Regions from separate parts of the Homo sapiens genome. Here region 2 is linked to region 1. Evidence: promoter capture Hi-C in 16 types of primary human blood cells and fetal thymus (Javierre and others, 2016). All regions are on one chromosome and are shown on one strand. Each heading gives the region's core, a stretch centred on a gene start or on the middle of the fragment in contact. The rest is flanking DNA. Distances are from core to core; before and after follow the strand shown. Region 1 holds the start of USP24 (ubiquitin specific peptidase 24). Region 2 holds the start of LINC01562 (long intergenic non-protein coding RNA 1562).

Evidence for each region. The method cuts DNA at HindIII sites, captures the fragments that hold promoters and counts their contacts. A CHiCAGO score of 5 or more calls a contact.
Region 2: the fragment with the promoter of LINC01562 here is called in contact with the fragment with the promoter of USP24 in region 1 in 1 of 17 cell types (naive CD8 T cells); the score reaches 5.1 in naive CD8 T cells.

The regions. Positions count from the first base shown.
Region 1 is chr1:55,213,234-55,219,182 of GRCh38, reverse strand. USP24 (ubiquitin specific peptidase 24) reads left to right here and starts at 3,819. Exons shown (of 68, transcript NM_015306.3): 1 at 3,819-4,393. The coding sequence starts at 4,070. LOC100507634 (a long non-coding RNA gene) reads right to left here and starts at 3,775. Exons shown (of 1, transcript NR_038320.1): 1 at 1,728-3,775. MIR4422HG (MIR4422 host gene) reads right to left here and starts at 1,322. Exons shown (of 2, transcript NR_146283.1): 1 at 1,251-1,322. RefSeq lists silencers at 3,642-4,151, 4,222-4,411 and an enhancer at 4,872-4,931. The HindIII fragment of the contact is 9,819 bases long and covers 1-5,652 here.
Region 2 is chr1:51,233,427-51,240,083 of GRCh38, reverse strand. It overlaps LINC01562 (long intergenic non-protein coding RNA 1562), which reads left to right and starts at 4,988. Exons shown (of 2, transcript NR_147076.1): 1 at 4,988-5,119. RNF11 (ring finger protein 11) reads right to left here and starts at 3,811. Exons shown (of 3, transcript NM_014372.5): 1 at 3,205-3,811. The coding sequence starts at 3,327. RefSeq lists a silencer at 3,547-4,026. The HindIII fragment of the contact is 11,293 bases long and covers 4,139-6,657 here.

The DNA.
Region 1 (5,949 bases), core at 2,570-5,069:
CACTTGTGGCATCACGTCACCACTCAAGTTTTCAAATTTTGGGGGCTGGGCATGGTGGCTCACACCTGTAATCTCAGCATTTTGGTAGGCCAAGGGAGGCAGATCACTTGAGGTCAGGAGCTTGAGACCAGCCTGGCCAACATGGTGAAACCTCGCCTCTACTAAAAATACAAAAATTAGTTGGACATGGTGGCAGATGCCTGTAATCCCAGCTACTCAGGAGGCTGAGACAGGAGAATTGCTTGAACCTGCAGCAGAGGTTGCAGTGAGCCGAGATGGTGCCACTGCACTCCAGCCTGGGTGACAGAGTGAGACTCTGTCTCCAAAAAAAAAAAAAAAAAAAATTCAAATTTTGGGCTGGGTGCAGTGGCTCACACATGCCTGTTATCCCAGCACTTTGGGAGGCCGAGGTGAGAAGATCACTTGAGCTCAGGAGTTTGAGACCAGCCTGAGCAACATGGTGAAACCCCATCTCTTAATAAGAAGACAAAAAAGAATAAGAAAATACTTTTTTTTTTCAGATTTTGGAGCATTTCAGATTTCAGGTTAGGAATGCTCAATCCATATCTCTCTAGAATTCTATACTCCACTGGCTTTTAATTCCTCCAAATTGCTTTATTCTCACCCACAACAGGACCTTTGCACATGTTGTTCCCGTTCTTTGGAACTTTCTCCCTTCATTTCATATTCCTTTTCCTGGCTTTCCAACCTTACGTCAGATTATAGTTTGAACGTCGTCTTCTCTGGGAAAATTTTCAGTTTTCCTAGACTTGGTAATTACCCCCACAGAGGGCAGAAATTTGCCCCTTATATCCTGAAATTCCCCCATCAAAGCGTCTATCATGCTTTATGACTATTATTTGTCTATTTCCCTTTATTATAGACAGTAAGATCCAAAGGGGTAGAAATTGTGTAATGTTTTTCTCACAATTGTCTCCCTAGTCCTCAGCCTGGCTCAAAGTAGATATTCAATCTATAATTTGAAAACTTACTTATTAACAGTAGAAAACCCTCAGTCTTCAAGATAGTTCATCATACCTTACTTCTCTATGTAGCTATTTTTTTCTTTTCCTTTAGAACCTTTCTAGAGAAAGATGTATGGGAATTGAATGTAATTTAAATTTTTAAAAATCCTCTCAACATTTTCTAGATTTTACTGCAATAAAAATAAAAATGTAAATGAAAAGTATGAATATTCATATCATAGGCCCCACCCCTGCTATCCCAATTCCACAGTTTAAAGTACTCACTTGCTTTCTTCCATGCAAAAAAGTATGATTATACTACTCGCATCCTCAAATGACACTCTGCCTTTTCAGTCACTCCAGGATCCGGTTCCAAAATGGACTTCCTTGTTTTTTGTGGCCTTTTGTGGCTCCTTTCCAGTTTTTATCACAGACTTTGTTTTTCTCTGCTTCCTTCTCTGCTTCCTCTTCTCAGCTAAGCACAGCTTCCTCTGTCATGTTCTATAAACCTGCCACCGTTGATGAGTCTTTTAACGTGCCATCTGATTCAGTCGGCTCTTTCATGACCTTTTAGGTTCTACCTCAAATTTTAGTGGCAAACAATTTTTTTGTTACTTGTTACTTCCTCTCTCCTTGTAATTCATTTCTTAGTAATTAACTCTTCAAACACAGGGCAGAATTGAATGCCCTCACTTTGCCATCATCTAATTTTTGTCTGTGCGAAGAATAGTACCTGGCACCCAGTAAATAGAATCATTTTTATTCTATTTATTAAATTTATTAAATATATTATTTATTGAATAATTATTTATTTATTGAATAAATTTATTCAATTTGTTGAATAAATTCCTCAGCATGTACCTTATGACAGCCTGCTTACATCAGTTTAGATTGCTTTGTTCTTCATATGTCACAGATAAACATTTAAAACTTCATTGTGTACCTGGAAGTTGATACTTAATAAAAATTTTATTTCAATATGTACATTGTGACCCAAACCAATTATAGGCATTCCTTCTTGTCATTGTTGTTCAGAAGTGTGAGGTTTCCTTTTGTTACTTTTAATTAAAAAATTGAGACTTTATTTGCTTTGGATATGAGGCCTAGGCTTTATAATGTCGCCTTTAATGGAAACAACAAATACAGTAACTTCATTTAAAAGTAAACAATAGTGACAAATTCACCCTGTAAATCAAATTGCTGGTATTTATAAACACAGGTGGCAAGTTACTAGGTACGAAGGGTTCGTGGTCCAGGGGAAAATATGCCAGCAGAGTGCAGAGACAATGTCTAGGTACCGGCCCTAATTTAATATTTGGTGTATGTAAAGATCTTCGTGAGTGCTGGGCTGGCAACAGCAGGGGTTTGATGGGATGAAAAAGTAAGGTTAGCTGGATTTCAGGTTCAGGAAGAAACCAGGATGAGGACATTAGAAGATGAACTCAGCAAGTATGTAGGAATAGGCATAGGAGATGAACTCAGCAAGAATGAAGGGATATCCGAATCTTGGGAAAGGGTGGGAAAATAACCTAGAGAACTATGGATTGAAGGAAATTGAAGAGGAAAAATAGCAAGGACTTAGGCCCAGGACGGCTTTGAATGCGGCTCAGCACAAATTCGTAAACTTCTTAAAACATGATGAGATTTTTTAAAAGTTTCATCAGCTACCATTAGCGTTAGAATATTTTATATGTGGTCCAAGACAATTTTTCTCCTTCCAATGTAGCCCAGGGAAGCCAAAAGATTGGACACCCTTGGCTTAGATGGTGGAGTCAAGGGAACTAAAGATATGACCCCAGTGTGCCAATGCCAAAGGTGAGAAGAGAAAGCAAAGAAAGCAGGCCTTTAAAGAGGTAGAGGAATCCTCAAAGGTGGAAAGAAACAGGGATAGGATGCTGCCCAAGAGGCAGGGACAAAGAATCGGAGCCAAAGACTGCGGTAAAAATGTGGGAAGGTGATGTCCACGATGTTCGAACGAGTCCGTGGCCGAAGGAAGTAAGAGTCTGGGTTTCTGGAGGTTTTCATACAGAGAACTGGGATTTAGATTTCGGGCTGGAAAAATATATTTTGGACTCTCAGGGGCTTTCAGGGTAAGAGTTCGGTAGAGTTCAGTCAGCTTGGCGGAGACAGGTAGTCAGTTAATGTTGGAAGGAAAATTCGGACAGCTGGGAATTAATTTCAACGGGTTTAGGGTGATTTCGGCAAGGGCTGGCGGGGCTAGGGTCGAGTGTGAATTTCGTCTTGGGTGGTCCACGCGTCTGGTTTGGGCAGGAATTTCTGTGGGCAGCGAGGCGTATTCAGGCAGCGTTGCGGGTGAATCTGCGTGGGATGAGGGTGGATTTCCTTCAGGACTGCGGTGCATTTCAGGCCGGGGTGGAGGTGCCTCACAGCCGCGGCGCAGGGAATTCCCTCTAGGATGGGGGAGCGGGTCGGGCGGCGCCGGCCAGGGAGGGGAAGTCCAACGGGGGTTCGGAGAGGCTCGGGGGACTCGGACGGAGAGAAGCCGGGTCGCGGCTGCGGAGGCTCGGCCGGCCAAGGGATTTCCGCGACGTTCAGCGCTGCGAGCTGCGCGGCGCTGCGGCCCCTCCCGTCCCGGGGGAACCTGTTGCCGGCGAAACAGGCGGGCGGTGGCGACGATGGAGAAGCCTTCCTCGCCTCTGCCTGGCTGCACGGCAGCCCTTTCACCTTAGGCACGCTCCGCGGCGCGGCCCCTCCCTCCGCTCCTTCGTTTAAAACAAACAGAATACGCCGCCGCCAACCCTAGCCTGCCAACGGCGAGCACGGTCGCCTCCCGTGCCGCTTCCGGGAGCCGAGGCGCGGCCCCGCCGCCCGGGGAGGAGGAGGCGGAGGGGGAGGAGGCCAACATGGCGGCGCGCAGGGCTGGGCCGGGCCGCAGCCGCGCCTGAGCGCCTCACCGCACTAGCTCGGCTCGCAGGACCCAAGCCCGCACCCAGCCTGGCCCGGCTGCTGCGGAGCACCCGGGGCAGGAACGCAGGGGCCAACCTGGGCGCGGAGGCGGCGCGGAGGGTGCGCCGCGCGGCCCGCCAGGCCCGGGACCCGTAGCTTCGCCGTGCGCTGGCCGGGGCGGCCAGGAGGCCCAAGCCATGGAATCGGAGGAGGAGCAGCACATGACCACGCTGCTGTGCATGGGCTTCTCAGACCCCGCCACCATCCGCAAGGCCCTGCGCCTGGCCAAGAACGACATTAACGAGGCCGTGGCACTGCTCACCAACGAGCGGCCGGGCCTCGACTACGGCGGCTACGAGCCCATGGACAGCGGCGGTGGCCCCAGCCCCGGGCCCGGCGGGGGCCCGCGGGGCGACGGCGGAGGTGACGGCGGCGGCGGCGGCCCCTCCCGCGGCGGGAGCACCGGAGGCGGGGGCGGCTTCGACCCCCCGCCCGCCTACCACGAGGTGGTGGACGCGGAGGTGAGGAGGGGCAACCCCAGACCTCTGTGGGAAGCCACTGGGCTGGAGTTCCTGGGAGGGGACACACCCCGCTGGGCTTGGTGTGGGGAGAGAGGGCATTCGACTGGGGCTTTAGTGGGGGCGGGGCGGAGAGAGAGAGAGAAGCCCCAGGCTCCAGTTGGGAACCGAAGTCACTTGATTGGGGGTAAGTGGGGAGAGGGACCCATAGGAGAGGCGTGTGAAAGGGAATTAGGGATGCGCAGCGGAGCTGTGGGTTGGGGTGAGGAGGGGTCCCTTAGGCTTCCGGCTATGCACGCCGACGATGGGGAGGAGGCTCCAGGGCTATCATCCGAGATGGGAGGACAGACACTTGAGCATATAGTGGGAAGGATGCGTGCAGTAGGGGGTCGGAAATGGGGTACTAGTGCACTAGGCTAGGTCGGAGATTTTGTGGCACGAGGTTTCAGTGAAGGATTGGCGGAGGCACCAGGCTCAGAGTCAGAAAAAGCGGTGTGGGCCGGCCAGAGTAGTGGTCTTTGACAGGATCACAGGAAAACTGTTGGGGTTAGGAGTGAGGTTGGGGTTTTAGCCAAGGGTCGGAAAGGGGGGGCATTGAGTAGGATTTAAAATGAAGAGGGAAGGGGCCGCGGCCAGGAATGAGGACTTGAATAAAATCAGGTATGAGAGCAGTGGGGATTGCACTGAGAGGGCAGAGGTGGGAGGCCTGGGCAGGGGTGGGAGCTGAGGAGGGTCTAGGCAGGGATGGGGACTGGAATTGGAAGATAGAGCTGGCACCAGGTCTGGGTAAAGAGGGAGTACTGGTCATCGATAAGGTCAGAAATGAGAGAAAATTAGACCGGGGAAAGAGATGGTAGTCATACTGAGGGTGCTATGCAGAGGGGCGCGGAACAGGGTGGGAGCGCAGTGGGGGTGGAGGAGGAGTCTTGAGGCTAATGGCTTTGATCAGAGACCTCAAGTCTAGGTGGAGAAGACTATGCCTGTTTAGTTTGGGGTGTGAGCAAGGAACGTGGGGGAAGAAAACGGACTCTTCTATAATAAAGAAAAAAGATCGACCAGAAGCAGCAGTGCTTTTGAATAATTACTTTGCAGAAACATAGTAGCTCATGGCAGGAATTTTGGTCAGATTCGTTGGGTAGTTCATTTCAGGGGCCAGTAGAGCAGCTTGGCCTGACCACAGAAAAGCACAGATCTCAAATTATTGGGATTGCGTTATTAGGTAGAGATACGAATTTGGTTCGTTCTTAATGAAGAATTAAGCTTAGTGAAGCTAAGCCTTTTGAAACACTTTTTCCTGAGCAGTGTTATATCCTTTTAATTGTATGCTTTTGCAACAGTTCCTCGGGCTGAAGTAGCTTGAACAAGAAGGTGGCACTTAAAAAGAACAGGTTTCTGCACAAGATTTCTTTGGCTTCCACACTTAGACACAGTTGCTAGATTGCCCTCTGTAACCCACTAACTTAGCTGTATCGTTGACTAGTATATGGAAATAAAGATTGTTACTATTCCTAGTTTGGGAATTTTTTTAAATTCCCATATAATTGAGTAACCATACTTAA
Region 2 (6,657 bases), core at 3,739-6,238, 4.0 Mb after region 1:
AAATAACTGTGGCTGTTGTATTGAGGACAGGCCTTAGCGAGGACAAGGGTGAAAGCAGGGATAACTGTTAGGAGGCTACAAAAGAAACCATGGAAAGAAATATACACTTCCTACAAACTTGGATCATAATGGTGCAGGGATTTACTTTAAGGCAAAAATAAATAAAAACAAATTTGTCAGATGTTAATAGGAAATAACTGTAACTGGCTCTTGTCATTATATGTACATTGTACATATAAAGCAGCAAACAATGACATCTTTTAACTACTCACCTCAAGAGAACATGTTCCTTTACAATCAGCTATTCACTGTTAATTACATATAATTTGTTGAAAAAGTTACTTTTATCAACTGAGAATACTATAAATCTGCTGTGTGAGGTAGCTAACGCCTGTAATCCCAGTCTTTGGGAGGCTGAGGGAGGAGGATCACCTGAAGCCAGGAGTTTGAGGCTGCCAAGTGAGCAATCCAGTCTAACCTGGATGACAGAGGGAGATTCTCAACTCAAATAAATGAATAAATAACCTTGGATTGCTGTTTCTCAGATCATCTAAAATAACCATTCCTAAGACAGATCTTATTTCTTTGGGGGTGGGGGACAATACTTTTTCTCCAAAAGTTTCTTTTTATGCTCCCATGTTTTAAAGTAATTTTCTTCTGATTGATACTGAATTTGTATATTAGTCTGCGTCATTCACTTCAGGAAACTGCAACCATAAAAAACTCCCACTGTCAAAAATATAACATTTCCAAAAAAAGTTCCTTCATGACACCAAAAACCCCTCATCCCTCATCATCACCTAGTTCTTCTGGAAAAGGCAAACACAGTTTCCATAAATTCTAGTACCTTTAATAGTACAATTATCATAAGGATAGGAGAAAGAGAACAAGTCAAAGATATTCAATTAAGAAAGGGGATAGGAGGCAGGAGAATTTGCTTGAGGCCAGGAGTTCAAGACCAGCCTAGGCAACATAGGAGTCCCTGTCTCTATTTTTTTAAAAATAGAAGGGGGTGAGGGTAGGGAGCATAAGAGATTTTAAAATAAAAACTTCATGCCAGATGCGGTGGCTCATGCCTGTAATCCTAGCACTTTGGGAGACTGAGGTGGGTGGACTGCTTGAGGTCAGGAGTTCAAGACCAGCCTGACCAACATGGTGAAACCCCGTCTTTACTAAAAATACAAAAATTAGCTAGGTGTGGTGGCACGCGCCTGTAATCCCAGCTACTCAGGAGGCTGAGGCAGGAGAATCGCTAGAACCCGGGAGGTGGAGGTTGCAGTAAGCAGTGAGATTGTGCCACTGCACTCCAGCCGGGGTGACAGAGCGAGACTCCATCTCATTAAAAAAAAAAAGTTAAATAAGCACTTTTGTTGTATAGTAAACATAGGAGGGAAAGACAGTGAAGGATAAACATAGCTTGCTTGCTTCACTCAAAGGTACTTGTAAAGACACCCAGATTCAGCTTTGATTTTTAAGAGACTACCCTGTGACAACTTACTTTGGAAAAAATATTTGTGTAAATACAGAAAATACTAAATTCAACTTCATTAATTAATTCAGCATTTAGGTGCTTATGTGCCAGAAACTGAGCGAGGGGAGAGTCCCTGTTCTCAAGGGCTTTTACTCGTAATTTATCTCCCAGTTACTGAGTCCCTACTGAGGCAGATGCGAGGGATACAACAGCAAACCGGAAACACAGATTCTCTACCTTCACGCAGCTTGCACTGAAGGAGGCGATTACAAGGATGAGACACACATCTAACAAAGATACAACACTAAAGTGTTATAGATATTGCTTATGGAAGTGTAGAGGTTTCAGTGGGGACACAAGGGATTCGGGCTGGGAAGGAAGGGAATGCTGGGACTTCAGACATGAAAGCTGAGTTCTCAAAGAGGATTAGATGTCCACCTGGCTGACCCGGGCGAAGGGCTCCAAGCAGAGAGGAACTGGAGCAAAACAAAGCTGTGAACAGCCTGGTGTATTTGGTAGGCCTGGAATATAGAACGTAAGAGGGAGAAGTCATGGAGGCTTCTGTAATACCACAATCAAGACTGGACCTTACTGGTATATATGAAATGCCCCCAGAAGAATTTTATTCAGAAAACGAGCATATATATGATCAGGTTTTTCTGGTGTGATGAGACATTGGTTTACACAGGAATGAGAAAAGAAAACACTAGATAATGATGTCATCACATGAAACAACAAAGGAGCCTACCCAGTCAGAAAACTAAACTCTTCAGGAAGAAATTAAGCACTACTACTATTGAAGCCCTCTGGAAAAGGGTGTATTCAATATCATCTAAAATGGAAAAAGTACAGGAAAGGTTTTCACACATCTATTGTGGATTATAACATCCACATACCTATTTTGAGTTTAAGAGGTCTTCACTCGAATTCTGCAACACATCTGGGACTACTGATTATTGTACAAAAAGCAGTACAACGTATTTAGGAGAGTCTTTGATACAAAGGGAGAACACGAGTAACCGAAGGAATTTCCCAAGCCAGGTTTAAAGGTTTCCAAAGTTCAAGCTAATCAAGTTTTCTTAAGTCAGCACGTTTAAAAGGTGTGTCATATGGGTGGAGCAAAAAGAGGAGGGATTAAAATTTATATACATATATATATATATATATATACACATATATATATATATACACACACACACAAGTAACTCGATGTCGCTAGGGTTAAAATCACCACTTGGAGATCCGTCTCCCAAGCAGAGGGAAAACCTGCCAGATCCAATTAACAAAAAGACGAGGGAGGTGGGTAAGAGGACGACCACACATGAAAACATAAATGGGGCGGGGGGGTGGTGCTTGGCAACCACCTATCCAGAACCCATAATCCAGTTGGCGGTGCGATGAGGAAATCATACGATTCAGACATAAAGACAGGAAAATGTCACTCCCAAACTCCACAAGCGAACCACCAGACACTGGCCAAGGGGATGTGATCACATACTCTGATCCCAGAACTCAAGGGCAGAGGGTATCATCCCCACACGGTGCCCGAGGGCAGGCGAAGAATCAACCTTACTCTGAGATCAGAGAGCAAATGCCCTCAGATCCAGCCCTAAGGGGTCAATGCCGCCCAGGCCAGGCCTTGCCGAAGCCAGGGGCAGAGACGGCCCCGAAGCCCCCTCAATCTCCGCCAGAGCTGCCTCTACTCGCTCCCCCCAACACACACCCTCCCCTACCTGATATGGCGGCGGCGGCTCCTGATCCGGCTCCGTCCCCTCGCCAAAGCTAGCCCGGTCGGACTGAGACTCGTGAAGCAGGGAGATGTCATCCGAGGTGGGGGATTTGAGGCAGTTCCCCATCTTCCGGAGCTGGGGTGCGTGATCTGGGGGAGGAGAAAGCAGCGGTGGGGTCGTTCGCACACTCCGCGGTCCGCCTCGGTTGGCGAGGTGGGGTCGGGCGACAGGCCGGGGATCAGGCGGAGGCGACTCCACCGCCCCACGGTGCCGCCGAGGGGCCGCTCATGCCAGCCCCCGGGGTTGGGGGATCAAGGCTGGGCCGCGGGCTCCGCTGGGGTCGCGGCGTTCGCCTCCTGCGAGGCAGCGATGGGGGGGGGGGGGCGGGGAGACGAAGCACTTCCCCACCCCGCCCCCCCGCGGGGCGGCGGCGGCCACGGAGCTGCTGGGCCTAATCCAGGTCAGCGGGGGGGGGCGCGGCCGTCGCGGCTGCCTCAGCTGCTGCCTCAGCTGCTGCTGCCCCCGCCGACGCCGGAGCCACGGCCGCGGGCCTCATCCTACTCCGCCTCAGCGAGACGGCGGCAGCCAGAACGAGGCCGGCTCGGGCACTGCGTCATCGCGCCGTGCGTGCTCTGGTCCCGCCCCCGGCGCCAGGAGGCGAGGGCGGCTCCGGCGGCGCCCATCCCCCTCTCCACTAGCAGCTGTTCTCGGTGCTGCGTCAATTTTTGCTTCTCTCTGACTGCTTGGCTCCGTACCTGGCTCCGAAACCAATCTCCCGTCTCCCGCGCCTCCCCACATTCATTGCTCCTGCCCCGTCTAGGGCTCAGTTCTTACCTGTGCACTGCCTGACAGTCTTCTCACCACCCTCCGCCAAGCGGTCTATTTATATAAACCCATATCGGAATGGATCAGTCCCATGATTAAAATGTTAAAAGCTTCCCCTTTATCCCTTCACAATAAAGTCCTAGCTCGTTACTGAACCATCCCTGCCTGTCCAATCACGTCCTTATCCTTCCACATCACAGCCAGAGAGATTATTCTTCCAGTTGTATATCAGATTGTTCATTTCTTTCCAGTCCCAGCACCAAAGTCCAAGCCACCATCATCTCTCACCTTGGCTTCTGCAATAGACTCTCAGCTGTTCCTGAGTTCATCATTGCCCACATCCAATTCACTGTTGGCACAGTTGACAGAGTTATCTTTTTAAAATTTAAATCGGATCATGTCATTCTCCTGTTAAAACCTTCAGTGTCTCCTCAAGGCTGTCCTTAAGACAATCCTTAAATGGTTTACAAATCTGACTCCCTTTCAATCTCATTAGCAGCATTGTCACCTCCTTCACAAATTCTAAACTAGACTCTCTAAAATGCTTTTCGTTATCTGGAATACTATTGCCTCTGCCTGGGGCCTTTGTCCATATTGTTTCTCTCACAGAAACCCACTTCCCTCCACTCCCAACCTTTCTGCTTCTCATCAGGCTAATCATTATTCTCAGGAATCCTTCTGGATGCAACTTCATTTCCCCTGGGGAGACTCTCCTGACCCTCCAGTCTGGGTTAGTCGCATCCTGTGTGCTCTCAGACCCTGAGCTTTTCTCTGTCACAGCCTGATCAAGCTGAATCATCTGTCCCTCTGTGCAAGGCTGGCACACTGCCCAAGGTAGAGTATGCTCTCTCCTTGGTTGAATGAGCAGCTCAAACAACATATGCAAAAGAAGGAAGCAAGAAGGATGACAGTGCTCCTGATAGACGTTCATTCAACAGGTGGATCTTGACTGCCTTTCGTTTCATTCACCATTTACTGAAGTTGTGTGTGCGTGTGTATACCAGACCCCACGCTAAGGACTGGGGAAAAGGATGATCATACCTGGCTTGTTCCTGATAGAGCCCAGAGACCACCTGGGAAGACAAGTAATCAGGTGAGTCCTAAGCCCACACCCTGCCACGGACCCCAAGGTTTTTAGAGGAACTGAAAGACAGCAATTAGTTCATTTGAGTGAGGAACAGAAAGGATTCTTAGAGGTAGGGCTATATTAAACTCGAATGGGTCTGAACACTCTTACTCTGCAGTCCCTATTCTACGAAGTCACTATCTTATTTAAATGCACTCAAATTCCACATTAAATATCACCTTTTTGATATAAAATTTTTGAAAAGACTCATAATTTTGGGCCAGGCGTGGTGGCTTACGTCTGTAATCCCAGCAATTTGGGAGGTCAAGGCGGGTGGATCACTTGAGGTCAGGGATTCGAGAGTAGCCTGGCCAACATGGTGAAACCCCATCTCTACTAAAAATACAAAAACTAGCCAGGTGTGCTGGTGCACGCCTGTAGTCCCAGCTACTCGGGAGGGTGAGGCAGGAAAACCGCTTGAACCTGGGAGGTGGAAGTTGCAGCGCAGTGAGCCCAGATTGTGCCACTGCACTCTAGCGTGGGCGAGGGAGTGAGTAAGACTCAGTCTCAAAAAAAAAAGGAAGGAGAAAGAGAGAGAGAGAGAAGGGAGGCAGGAAGGAAGGAAAGAAGGAAGGGAGAGAAAGAGAAAGAGAAAAGAGAAAGAAAAGAAAGAAAGAAAGAAAAGAAAGAAAGAAAGAAAGAAAGAAAAAGAAAAAGAAAGGAAAGAAGGAAAGAAAGAACAAACTGACTCACAATTTTGGTTTTGGAATTGTTGAGCTTCCAAGAACTCATTTAATTTATGATTGGCTAAATTTACCAGAAATCAGAGGTACCCTGGAATTTTTACAAAGTGAGAAAATTTACCCCACAAATTATTGTCAAACCTAAAGAAATTTTTATTAATAATAATTTATACAATTATTTGACATAATATTTACACAGTGCTAGAATTTGTAGACATTGTTTGTTTGTTTTGGAGACAGGGTCTCACTCTGTCACCCAGGCTGGCTTGATCGAGGCTCACTGCAGCTTCAACCTCCTGGGCTCAGGTGATCCTCCTGCTTCAGGCCTCTCCAGTAACTAGAACTACAGATGCACACCACCATGCCTTGCATTTGTTTTTGTTTTTGGTAGAGACGAAGTCTTGCCATGTTGCCCAGGCTGGTCTCAAACTCCTGGGCGCAAGCGATCCTCCCGCCTCAGCCTCCCAAAGTGCTGGAATTACAGGTGTGAGCCACTGTATGCCTGGCCAGACATAGATTTATTTAGTTAGTTTTAATTTTTTTTAATTTTTATTTTTTGAGACAGAGTTTTGCTTGTGTTGCCCAGGCTAGAGTGCAATGGTGCGATCTTGGCTTACCGCAACCTCTACTTCCCCGGTTCAAGCAATTCTCCTGCCTCAGCCTCCTGAATAGCTGGGATTACAGGCGCGCACCACCACGCCCAACTAATTTTTTGTATTTTTAGTAAAGACGGGGTTTCACTATGTTGGCCAGGCTGGTCTCGAACTCCTGACCTCAGGTGATCCACCCACCTTGGCCTCTCAAAGTGCTGGGATTATAGGC